Linked DNA regions of Homo sapiens: region 2 is linked to region 1. Evidence: promoter capture Hi-C in 16 types of primary human blood cells and fetal thymus (Javierre and others, 2016). All regions are on one chromosome and are shown on one strand. Each heading gives the region's core, a stretch centred on a gene start or on the middle of the fragment in contact. The rest is flanking DNA. Distances are from core to core; before and after follow the strand shown.

Evidence for each region. Contacts are between HindIII fragments. The CHiCAGO score rates a contact against its expected background, and 5 or more counts as called.
Region 2: a fragment that was not itself captured here is called in contact with the fragment with the promoter of SYNE1 in region 1 in 1 of 17 cell types (neutrophils); the score reaches 5.4 in neutrophils.

Annotation. Positions count from the first base shown.
Region 1 is chr6:152,634,824-152,641,629 of GRCh38, reverse strand. It overlaps SYNE1 (spectrin repeat containing nuclear envelope protein 1), which reads left to right and starts at 4,268. Exons shown (of 146, transcript NM_182961.4): 1 at 4,268-4,441; 2 at 4,825-4,992. RefSeq lists an enhancer at 6,641-6,770. The HindIII fragment of the contact is 16,108 bases long and covers 1-6,806 here.
Region 2 is chr6:152,529,923-152,536,742 of GRCh38, reverse strand. All of the region lies in intron 4 of SYNE1 (spectrin repeat containing nuclear envelope protein 1), which reads left to right. Among named protein-coding and RNA genes, the nearest start is that of SYNE1, 100 kb to the left of the region's middle. The HindIII fragment of the contact is 4,813 bases long and covers 3,005-6,820 here.

The DNA of each region.
Region 1 (6,806 bases), core at 3,019-5,518:
CATATGGGCACAATGTCTCATATTTTACAAATGTATAGAACACCATGATGCAGGCATTGGGATGAAGCTGGGCTGAAGGCAATCTGCAACTGTTGCTATCTTTGGTACCTCTTGCTAATGCAGACAGGGGACCTTGGGGGCCCAACTACAGTGATATATAAGAAGAAGATTCTTTGTAAAGTGAGACAGAATGAAAAGACGGATGAGGAGGACAGGCCCTGGGCCTGGTGGAGGAGGAAGTCAGGTTGCTGTCCTGGCAGCTGTCTCTCAGCCTGTGATGGCCCTGGGATTGTATTTTGTTGCTCTCAGGAACTGGTGTCCTAGCTCTATTAGGCTATTGCAATGTGAAATGGAGAGTGATGGTTTGCCAACTTCAGAAACATCTAGACTAATAGTAATAATAACTAGAAGCATAATAATGATGCTAATAATATCTTTCATTTATTGACCACATGCCAGGCACTGAAGTGCTGAGTGCTATTCAGGCATTAGCTCATGTAGTCCCCACAACAGCTCTATGAATGAGATACTATTAGAATCCTGAATTGCAGGGTTGTAAACCTGAATTCACAAGAGGTTAAATTCCTAGCTAAAAATCACATAGGCACTTAATGGTAAAGCTGGGACTCAAACCCAGGCCTTTCTTGCTTTAAAACCCAATACTTTAACCATTATACTTTTCTAACTTCCTGTTGACACATGTCTTAGTCTGTTCGGGCTGCTGTAACATAATACTATAGTACAGGTGGCTCACAAACAACAGACACTTACTACTCACAGTTCTGGAGGCTGGAAGTCCAGGATCAAGGCACCTTCAAATTCAGTGTCTGGTGAGAACCCACTTCCTGGTTGATAGATGGCTGTCTTCTTGATGTGTTCTCACATGGTGGAAGGGGCAAGGACTTCTCCAAGTTCCTTTTATTAGCACACTAATTCTATGCATGAGGGTTCTACCCTTATGACCTAATCACCCCCAAAGGCCACACCTCCTAATACCATGACACTGGGGATAGGTTTCAACATATGAGTTTGGGGGTGGGGGAACATACCTATTCAGTCTATAGCACAACATGGCCTTATGCCCTGTAAGTTTTATCTATTAAATATCTCTCAAATCTGTCTACATTTTCCCACCACCATCACTCTAATAATAAATACCACAGTCTTTTCTAAAGGATTACAGCACCACCTTCCTAACTGGTCCATGTTTATTGATTCTGGCTCCACTTCTAATCTGTTTTTTCACATTTTAGCCAAAGAGAACATTTTAAAACATAAATCTAATCATGTTGCACTGAGAACACTTTAATGGCTTCTTGTAAAGGGCCATCCCTTTGGTTCAGTTTTTAAGACTGGCATAGTCTGCCCTTGGCTCTGTTTCCAGCTGTACTGGGCCCACCATTCCCTAAACCTCCTGGCCCCTCCCTTGCTTTTTCTTCTGCAACCTCATCAGTCTTCCTCAGTTCCTGCAATGCACCATGTGCTTTTCTTCCATAGAGCCTCTGCATATGCTGTTCCTTCTGTCTGGAGCGCTCTCCCAATTTCCCACCTGCTCACGTTCACCTAGTTCCTGCACCTCACTGTTCAGATGTCACTCCCTTAGCAAAGCCTTTCTAATCCCTGAAATAAATTAATTCCCCTCCTTTTTTTTTTTTCTGAGTCTTGCTCTGTCACCCAGGCTGGAGTGCAGTGGCACGATCTCAGCTCACTGCAACCTTCGCTTTCCAGGTTCAAGCAATTATCCTGCCTCAGCCTCCCGAGTAGCTCAGATTATAGGCGCCTACAACCACGCTGGCTATTTTTTTTTTTTTTTGACAGAGTCTCACTCTGTCGCCAGGCTGGAGTGCAGTGGTGCAATCTTGGCTCACTGCAACCTCCGCCTCCCAGCTTCAAGTGTTTCTCCTGCCTCAGCCTCCTGAGTAGCTGGGCCTACAGGCATGCGCCACCATGCCCAACTAATTTTTTATATTTTTAGTAGAGATGGGGTTTCACCATGTTGGTGAAGCTGGTCTTGATCTCTTGACCTTGTGATCTGCCTGCCTCGGCCTTCCAAAGTGCTGGGATTACATGCATGAGCCACCGTGCCTGGCCAATTTTTGTATTTTTAGTAGAGATGGGGTTTCACCATGTTGGCCAGGCTGGTCTCGAACTCCTGTCCTCAAGTGATCTGTCTGCCTTGGCCTCCCAAAATGCTGGGATTACAGGTGTGAGCCACCATGCCTGGCCAACTCCCGTTCTTGAAAGCTCTCATAGCAACATTTGCCTTTGCTTGGAGAATGGGGTTTTATAAGTATTTGTGTGGTTCTCTGATGAATGTCTGGCTCTTCCCCCATCATACTGTAAGCTCCATGAAGGCAAGAGCCCGGTCAGAGTTTGCTTACCACGGTAGCCCCAGCACTTAGGACAATATTTGTTATGTGGTAAGTGTTCAAGCAATAGCTGTTGAGTAAATGGAGCTACAACACCCTTCCCTGGGGTGTGTGAAACTGACAAGCCCTTTGCAAAACTCTAAAATGTGCTTAGTCCTTCTACAGAGGATAAAGTTTAGCTGAGAATGGGATTTCAGCTGTATAGGGAATCAATGCCAGCAAGACAGCTCTATGCTTCTGTCTGTCTCAGCCTGTGAGAACAGAGATTAGGCCTAGTAGAGGAGTTTTAGTTGGTGGAAGCAATGTTTCAGGCTTGTGTTTTAAGTGGCTCACTTCTCAAGTAAGTAAACCCAAGAAAGTAGTTGCTTAACGTGTAGAATAGCAAGTTGGTGGCCAGGTGCAGTGGCTCACACCTGTAATCCCAGCACTTTGGGAGGCCGAGCTGGATGGGTCACCTGAGGTCGGAAGTTTGAGACCAGCCTGACCAACATGAAGGAACCCTGTCTCTACTAAAAATACAAAATTAGCCAGGTGTGGTGACGCATCCCTGTAATCTCAGCTACTCAGGAGGCTGAGGCAGGATAATTGCTTGAACCTGGGAGGCGGAGGTTGCAGTGAGCCGAGATTGCACCATTGCACCCCAGCCTGGGGAACAAGAGCGAAACTCCATCTCAAACAAACAAACAAACAAAAAGAATGGCAAAGTTGGCACAATAACTTTCTACCCATCTTCAAAAGCCGGCAGGGTGGATTGATTCTATGAAGGTAGGGATTGAGAGGGTGAGCTGAGCCATTCTGATCTGTTTCTTCTGAGTGGCAAGCCTGGAAATCTGGACCCCATTTTGTGGCCACTGGGCACAGAGGGCTGACCTGGAATAATTATGCTCTGGTGGTTGTCTCCACAAGGGGCTCTGGGGGTGCCCCAGGATTGTTGCCCTCAGGCAGAGGCAGGGCATACATTGAGAGTGATCCCAAACACTCCTCCTCCAGGCCCAACTTTTGGAGGTAGCAAGTTCTGCAAATAGAGATCCATTGTTTGGTTTCTCTCTCTAAAAAAAAACAAAAGTCAGCACAAAGAAGAGGAACACATCAGATTGGTTTACCAGATTTGTTTCAGATGTTATTATTTTGACACGATCCAGAAGAAGGAGAATTTGAAGAAAATGGAAAGCTAGGCAGTGGGAATGTTGGCAGCAGGTAAGGGAAAGGCAGGCAGCAAAGAGAAACTTCATCTACTTTATAAACTGCTCCTTCCTTTCAGCAAATTTAGAGGATAAATGACTGTTTTGTTCAGATTGGAGATTCAAGGGGGGGATTATTACTTTTAAGATTATTGCAACATGGCTTCGATTATTTTAGCTGCAATCATCCTGTTGGACTTGGACTTCACTGTTGGTGAAGAGAGACTGTGTTTGACTTTGCCTGGATACCATAAAACCACAACAAAATAAATTCTCCTGAATGCTACCAGGCAACACCAAGATCTCTTACACCACGAGAAGGACTTGTGGCCAAAGATACAAATGGCTCCGCAATGTACAGGGTGCATACAGTGCACCTGAAGAACCTAAAAGTGGTTTTTAGAATCATCATAATAAACAGTCAAGAATTAAAGATGTCAAGCGCTTTCTCAAGAAGTCTAAACTTTATACATAACATTAAAAAAGATCTATAAAGCCTGACCAGTCTCCCTCAAATTAAGTTATTTGCTACTGACTTGGCAGCCAAAACGATTTAGGATCTTTCGGAAGTTGATGAAAAAGGAGCCAGCGGGTTTTGCTCTTTGCTCTGCATCACGCCCTTCCTGGGACCATCAGGGAACCTCCCAGCCTTTCAGGATAGGTTCCGCTCAGAAAGGTCACCCGGGCAGTGGAAACCGTGGGCAAAAGTTAGCTGGCAGGACAGCGCAGCTCCTCCAGGCAGCGGAGGCAGCGCGTCCCGGCTCTCAGGGACATTTCCTTCCCACCTCGACCCCCGGGAGGTGGTCCCGGTATAAAGGCTCGCTGAGCGGGTGGGTCACAGCACAGCTTTGCAGCTGCGGAGAAACGCCCAAGGCCGTGCATCTCCAGGAGGTAGGGAAGCCTGCGAGCCTCCGGGTCCCCGCCCCCAGCTCTTCCAGGCACCGGCGCATCCCGGAGCCGGGCGCGGGGCGCGGGGCACGGAGCCGGGGAGGGGGTGTGGCGGGCCAGGGCGGTGCAGGGACCCTGCCCAGAGGCTGAACCGGCCTGGGCGACCTTCCTTCCCGACAGGAGCAGTAGATGCGTGGGGGAGGGCGAAGGGGGAGGCCTCACCCCCCAGCGAGCAGCCGGGAGGAGGAACCGGTCGCGGAGGGCGGGGAGCGCGGCTGAGCAGCCCGGCGCGGGAGTGAGTGTGGGCGAGCCAGCCAGGGTGAGCGCGGGCGCCGGGCCGCGGCCGCCGGCCGCAGCGGGCTGAGATTGTTGTCCTCTGTCACCAGGGCGGCTGGGCTCCCGCAGTCCTGCAGACCGCGCCCGATCCCGGCGACAGGGCGGGCGGACAGCCGCGCATCCCCGGGGTCCCGCCGAGCCTGGGCGCAGAGAGCCGGGAGGAAGCGTTCGCTCGCTTCGCCTTGCTGCTGGGAAACTGAACGAGGCCGAGAGAGAAGGTAAAAGGAAAGACAGAGACTGGGAGACAGGGAGAGACAGAGACAGGGAGAGGAGAGAGAGGTGCAAGACGAACACATTGCAGACAAATTGTCAGCAAGTTTGTGCCTGCACGCTGGGGCTCTGCGTGCTTGATGGGAGGGGGTGGTGGCAGTGATGTGTGTACGTGTGCGATACTCATAGATAAGGAGACTAGGAGGTTGGGGAGCCTCTTTGCATCTCGTACGTAGATGTCCCTATTAATATCCCCCTCTCTGAGTTGTCATTTCCGCTTGTGGCACATCTCCTGGGCTCCAATGGTGCAGAAGCAAAAGGCAGCCAGCCTCTTATTGTGATGGTCGGTACTGTTGCTACTATCAGATGGGAGAGGTAGGGCGTTGAACAGATTCTAGGAGCCTCCCTTCCTCCACCCCCTGACTATTTTAGGAAGGGCTGGGGGAGGGAAATGGCTTGAAGGCTGCGCGGAGGCCCTGGCGCGTCAGACTCCAGCGGCGCTGTCATGGTGCAGTTGCTTCCCGGCAGAGCCTGCACTAGAGGGCAAGAGAACTTTCGTCTCCTCTTTATAAAGATACGTTTCACATAGAGAGATCTTGCATTGCTGGCGGAGGAGTTCTGGGAAATGGTGGTGCACAGGCGGCCAGGTGCATCCCAACGGGCAGGCATCCGTGCAAAACGAAGCAGCCATCAGCCGCACAGGAAGAAGCCCCTTGGGAAGGCAGGCTGGGTGTGCTGACTGGGATCCCAGACTTTGGATGCTGGAAGTTCTGCCCCCTTCCGTAAATAGAGTCAGGTCCAGCCCAGAGGGAAATATCAGCAATGAAGCCTTAGCATCCCACAATGTTCATTTCTGAGCTTTTCGTTTTGGGGTGGAAAACTTGTATCTGAAATGTTCCTGTGAATGTTAAGAAAGTTAAAAATGAATTATTTTTCTCTTCTTTAATGCCCATCCATTTTTTGTCTTCATCTGAGAATGACTTTCCTAAAGACAACATTCGTATACAGAAGCCAGACCTATGCAAGAGAAAGTATAATAATTTTCAATGAGGCAAAGGTCATTAATATGACCTACATCTTCATAAAATGCGAATTTAATCACGAGTCATGACGATTGTTCTTTGAGAGGCTTTTTATTCCCCATGGTGAAAAAAGATTTGTAGTATGGCTAAAAAGTTCCTGATATCACCGGAACAGTGTGACAAAATACATATCTATTTTTTCTTTTCTGTTCATTACTTTGTGGCAGATTTAGAACAAAATGTGAGAGATCTATACTAACTTAATATGTTTCATGCTGAAGATTAAGAAACAGCTTCAGACTGACCCAGATAACAATATTTGCTAGGCTTTGGAAATATTTGCCTAGCTCTTATTTTATAGTCTCACTTTCATCTTTCTGAACTAATGATTTTCACAAACTGGTTTTCTTCTGTCCTCATTGACCTCATTTAAGAACTCTTTTTTACTTGAGTCCTTCCTGCCAGGGAGAGGAGATTGGAAAAAGCTAGTTTGCCATTTAAAAATGTTCAAGAATTGTTTGGTGCTGCACTGGGCCTACTTTCTGATAACTATGCTGCACACACAGCATCTTGGAAATGAAAGGAGGTGTGACTGTCACAGGATGTAGGAAGCCCATAACTGGGCAAGGTTGGTGGCATTTTCACAACTCCAGCTCTAGCTACTGCAGCCACACCCTGTGGTCTGAATGTGACAGGCATGCAGGGCCCAAACGCCTCTGCGAGGTCCTCTGTGTGTCTCCTCTTAAATGTGTACTTCTTTGTGGTCTAATCTAACGAGAACTAATGTTTGGCAAGGTGTG
Region 2 (6,820 bases), core at 4,162-6,661, 110 kb after region 1:
GAATCAAGAATGACTTCTAGATTTCTGACTTGAGCAAATGATTGAGATTATTCACAGATATAGGGAATACAAGAGGCTTGGGGGGAAAGCTAGGAAATTCAGTTTAGAAGGAGAAATTAGTTGGTAAAGGTGAACCCATTCGATTTGGCAGTTTGGAAGTCATTGGCCGCCATTGGGAGTGGCCATGTTATAGTAGAAACTAGACTCTAGCGAGCTGATGAGTAAATGAGAGGTAAGGATGTTAGTACACTTAATATATATTACTATATATATTGTATATATATATAAATATATATTACTATATATAGTTATATATATAAATATATATATTACTATATATAGTATATATATAAATATATATATATTACTATATATATATTAGTATACTATATATATAGTTATATATATATATTACTATATATATTGGCGCAGAACATTGGATTTGGTAAAAGCTGTTTTAATAAAGGGTGGTCATGAGCCTGCATCTGTATAGAAGGGAATGATCAAGAGCTTGTAGAGAGGGAGAGGCTGAAAAAGAAGGCAATGAATGGGATTCTGAAGGAACAAGGCGCCCGAGGAGGCAGAATGAGAGAAGAAATCAAGAGCAGAGGTGGAGGGTGTAGGTTTGTTCCAGAGCAGAGATATCTCCCCTTCTCTGAGACTAGCATTGGGAATAGGAAAGTGGGTGTGGCTGTGTCTAACTTTGGGATAAGCAGAGAGATGAAGACAGAGGTGGCATGGACTTAAATTTGAAGGAATTCTCACCTAATGACCATGGATGTCTTAGGCCTAACAGCATAGGCCTTGCATTTTAGGCAAAGAAGTTATGTTACGATGAATATATTTAAAATTTGACAGTTAAAAATAGTTCTTTCACATTTTAAAATATATCTTAAAAAATTCCTACATTTTATATAAAATTCATAGACTGTTGTAGTTATTTAGTACTTCAGCCACCCAAAGGGAACAATCTTTAAAAACCCTTTGTAAAAAGTTAGATGTTTAAAATTAGGCATGTATAAGCAATCTTAATATTTATATTGATTATTTTCTATTATCAAATGCTTGCAGTTTCATATTTTCTCTCATTTTATCAAATAGAATGGAATATTGTATCTTTATTTAAACACCCTTGATTCAATCTTATGATATTTGACTGTGAGATAAATAGATTGCTTGTCACTAAGCCCTTTGAGGAAAAATAGGTCTCAAATAGCCATGTTTTAGTGTTTCTATAAATGGAGCTTCTTTTCAATATAGAATGAGCAGTCCTTTATCCTTCTGTCAGCCTAAAATTTATGGAGCCATCAACAAAAGGCACTGAACATTTTAAATACTGTGTTTGGGATGAACTCAGGCATGATATGAGCATCTTCTCACTTTTCAGAAAAACTGCAGAAAAAAAATTTATAAAACATTATTTAGGTTCCCTATTAATTGCTGGGATTGCCGTAACAAAGTACCACATACTGGGTGGCTTAAAATGAGAAATTTGTTATCTCAGAGTTCTGGAGACTCGAAGGCCAGGCTCCTTCTAAGTCTCTGGGTAGCTGCATTATTTCAGTCTCTGCCTCTGTGCATGTCTGTGTCCAAATTTCACCACTGTGTGAGGGCACTAGTCATATTGGATTAGGACCCATGCTAATGACCTCATTTTAACTTGATTACCTCTCTAAAGACTCTATTTCCAAATAAGGCTGCATTCTGCAGCATTTTGGGGGGTTAAGATTTCAGCATATCTCTGGTGAGTAGGCACAATTCAACCTATAACAGATTCCATTAAGAGCACATTTTGTTTTAATACCAAGTTAGATGCATACAGTCTTTTAAAAGGAACATTTTGGATTTTCCATGTTTTTTCTAAAAACAAATCCATGCTAATCATGAATTTAAATGACATCTTTATAGTCATAAAATATCACTTTAGTGGTGGCTTTCATCTTCTTTAGTTGTCTTTCCACCAGCAGTGCTGAAAGATAACATGGAAACATGTTCCGAATAGAATTTTACTCCCATCTGTTTCCTTGTACACATTTTGGTGAGACTATTAATGAGCTCAGACAGGAAGATAAAGAGGCAAAGAGGAAAAGGTAAATGCAATAATTCACCCCCCCAAATAATTTTTTAGTTGTTTTTCTCAAGCTACAATAAGTAGGTGAGATGATGGATATGTTAATTAGCTTGATTTAATCATTTCACAATGTATGCACATACCAAGATATCATCTTATATAACAAATATATACAATTTTTATTTGTCAATTATATCTTAATAAAGCCAGGGAAAAAATAATTTAATTTGTCAACCCTAAACATTCTAATAAATTAGTTATTTCCAAATATGTAATTAAAATGTTATAAAGGAAAATTCCCATTTCAAAATGAATAGCATTTGTTAATTTATTTATAGAATATATTAGTTTATGGATAACAAAGATCTAGATCTCACAAAGTTTATGCAGACTAATAAACATTTTGCTAATATTAATATTTGTCAAAGTTCCTTCTTTAGAAATATATTATTTTATTTATTTATTTATTCATTCATTCATTCATTCATTCATTCATTCATTTATTTATTTTTTTGAGACAGAGTCTTGCTCTGTTGCCCAGGCTGGAGTGCAGTGGCATGGCTTGGATCACTGCAACCTCCTCCTCCCGAGTTCAAGTGATTTTCCTGCCTTAGCCTCCTGAGTAGCTGGGATTACAGGAGCCCACCGCCATGCCCAGCTAGTTTTTGTATTTTAAGTAGAGACGAGGTTTTACCATGTTGGCCAGGCTGGTCCTGAACTCCTGACCTCAAATAATTCACCAACCTCAGCCTCCCAAAATGCTGGGATTACAGCTGTAAGCCACCGTGCCCAACCAGAAATATATTTTATTTATCATACATTTATTCAACAAATATTTTAAAATGCTGTTTAATAAGCTAGAGAATATTCTAGGTGCTGAAAATGTAGCAGTGACCAAAACAGAAAAAAAAATAACCATCTCATTATGAAGCTTATATCCTAATGGGGGAGATGGACAGTAAAGAAGATCAAGAAGCTCTTCTGCTGAACGTAGACTGAAGAGAAGCAAGGGCAGAAGGAGGGAGATAAGTTAGAGGTTATTGAAGCCATCTGGCCAAGGTACTGGTGACTTGGACCAAGATAGTAGCAGTAGAGGTGATGAGAGGTGGTTGGATACTGGAAGACTTTTGAAAATGAAGCCAACAAGATTTGTTGATGAATCAGATATTGAGTGTGAGCAAAAGAGAGGAGTCAAGGGTAACCCCAACTTGTACCAAATAAATAACTTGGTACAATAATGCTTTTATACTATATAGTAAAACAAACTTTATTACATCTGAAAATTGTTGAGAGCTGAGTTTTCCAAGCAGATTTAAAGCTGAGCTGGAGGGCAATTATTGCCTTTGGAATATTTATTCGGAATTGAATTAAATAATCGAGGAAGTGGAAAGGATTATGCTATCTGTCACAGGAAACAAAAAAGAATGGGAAGGACCTTCCCACCTTTGCCAAGCAGAAGTGGAAAATGATCACAACAGTGCTGTTACAAAGGCAGTGAAAGAGAAGCAGATTACACATACAGTTTTTAAATTACTACACTTTGTTTCTGAAGATATTGGAAACATTCAATTAGATTTGCTGAATAAAATGACAAAACCTGTTGGACATTAATTTTATTTGACTACTGTCAGTGGTTATAATCATGATTTACTTGATCTGGTCCAAGGATACTTTGGCATTTTGATACATATACTGTGGAGGGTTCTTTGCCAACCTTTGGGGAGGTCACTTGCTCCATATCTGCTGGTTAACCTCTCTTCCTTCCCACTTCTCTATATTACTGTTGTTTAACTTGCTGTTCCCACCCAGAAGATAATCATCAGAGCATGCAAAACTCCAGACTGGTCCTGGGATGGGAATTTTTCTACATATACAATCTCTTAGCTTGTGAAATAATTCCTACCTGAAACTTATATAAACCAGAAGTAGTGGTTTATCTGGTTCTACAAGTTATGGGTCGTTCTGTGCACAGAGGTTTCAAGGGTGCACAGAATGCACATGGAGAGTCAACCCTTGCCTTGAGACCTCCCTACATGCTCTGCAGAAGAAAATGTTGTGACTATCTCAGGTCATGACTCTTCATCCTGTTCAGCAACCCTGACTGTGCTCAATAGTGTGTGTGCCTCAACTGAAGTAAATACTTAACTGTGGCATGCGCTATTCTTCTAAGCATTTTCTGGTTCAGTTTTATTGGTATCACTAGGTACCTAGCAATCACAAATATTAAGCCATAGGATATGTGTTTAGTAGTTTAAAGTAAAATATTGTAGCTTTTTTTGATGATAAAATGTTTTGAGAGCTCTTTTCTCAAAAGTAAAAACCATTTACTAGAAGACTAAAAGTGATTATGGATGATGGCAAATGAGGTCCTAGATGGTCCTGGTGTGAGACAGGTGATTTTATCATTTTCTTTGTTAAATACTAAATTATTAATACTGAAAATCTACTTTATAGCTGCATGATATTGGTCAATACGGATTCTAAGATTGTAGAAGATTTGTAGAAATTTGTACCTCATACAGTGATGATATGCTAGTAATGTTTCAAAGTAGGTTTCTATTCTTCCACAAAGCAGCCACTATGTAAAACAATATGTCAGTTTTTCAAAAAATAAGATAAAAATAGAATTAACATGTAGTTCAGCAATTCCACTTCTGGGTATATATCTACAAAAATTGAAAGCAGGGTCTTCAGGAGATATTAATACACTCACGCTCATAGTAGCATTAATCACAATAGCCAGAAAATGGAAACAATGCAGATGCCCATTGATGGATGAATGGATGCAAAATATGTGGTATATCCATACAATGGAATACGATTCAGCCTTTAAAAAGGATGGAATTCTGGCACCTGCTACAACATGGATGAACCTTGAGGACGTTATAATAAGTGAAATAAGCCAGTCACAAAATGACAGATACTGTGTGATTCTACTTATAAGAGGTATCCAGAGTAGTCAAAATCATTCAAAAGAAAATAGAATGGTAGAATGGTAGAGGCTGAAGGGCAGAGGGAATGGCTAGTTGTTGTTTAATGGGTACAGAGTTTCAATTTCACAAAATGAAAATGGTGGAGATCAGTTGCACAATAATGTGGAAATATTTAACACTACTGAACTGTATGCTTAAGAAGATTAACATGGCACATTTTATATTATGTGTATTTTAGCACATTTAAAAATTAAAAAGTTAAACTACATTCAAAAGGGACATGTCTCAGTCCCCAGTAGATGCCTGAAGCCACAGACAGTACTGAACCTGATCACTATCCACTAGAACACATTTCTGTTCATGTCCTCTACCCACCAATGTAACACCTTTTCCATCTTAACTCAGCACTTATCATTTACTCTGGCCGTAACTTTTGTTGAGGTGTGACAGCCAATTTTCCTTTTTCACAGTTTCACAAATAAAAGATTTATTCTTACCATGGATCTTAGCAATCTCAAATTTTTTTTTTCATTTTCTTATTGAGAACTTTCATCTTTTCACGTAAAGGAAACACTTTACAGCATCTTGTTGGCATATCCAAATTGACAGCATCAGTACACTTGCACTTTGTGGTCATTATTAAGTAAAATAAGGATGACTTGAACACAGGCACTGTGATACCGAGGCAGTTGATCTGATAACCTAGACAACTATGAAGTGACAAGCAGGTGGGTCAGGTTGAGTAGACAGCATGAATACCCTGGGCAAAGGGATGATTCATGTCCCAGGCAGGGACAGCTTAAGATTTCATCACACGGCGGGATGTGGTGGCTCACGCCTGTAATCCCAGCACTTTGGGAGGCTGAGGCGGGCAGATCATGAGGTCAGGAGATCGAGACCATCCTGGCTAACACGGTGAAACCCCGTGTCTACTAAAAATACAAAAAAAATTAGCTGGGTGTGGTGGTGGGCGCCTGTAGTCCCAGCTACTTGGGAGGCTGAGGCAGGACAATGGCATGAACCCGGGAGGCAGAGGTTGCAGTGAGCCGAGATTGTGCCACCGCACTACAGACTGGGCCACAGAGCAAGACTCCGTCTCAAAAAAAAAAAAAAAATTTCATCACACTATGCAGAACAGTGTGCAATTTAAAACTTATGAATTGTTTCTTTCTGGAATTTTTTGTTTAACATTTTCAGACTACAGTTGACCCTAGGTAATTGAAACTGCACATAAAGGGGGACTGTTTTAGTAAAAAAAAAAAAAAAAAAACCATACAATTAGGTTCTTCTGAAGATATGCACTTCTGTTTTACAGAACAAATTTACTTTTGGTCACTTATGTGAGTGGGAGTGGGGAGACACTGATATTTAAATTGTTACACTCAGAATAGTGTTTACACACTAAGAAATTAGACACGTCAGTTGTGCCTCATTTTGTTGCAAGTAAATAAAATTAATTTTAGATGATTTAACCAAGAAGAAAGAGCTATTGAAAGGCTACTAGTTGTCTCAAAGTATGAGAAGGAAAAGCCAACTGGGCAAGACAGACTTAACTCAGCAGGCCTGCGGTGCTCAGATGCTGTGTTCCAAAGACGGGCCTGTCTTTAAGAATAGACCTTGGCTGGCTTCTGGGAGATAATCTGAGCCCTTGGAATATTCTGCCCCAGTAGTGTGGTTTTCTATGCCTGAGACCTTGAGCCACACTATATTTATAGTGAACATCAGTTTTTGTTTGTCCTGGGGCCTTGGCAATACTGTACCACCTTGATAGATCTTTTTATGCTAATAATGTGATTTGGGTTAACTTTTTTTTTGC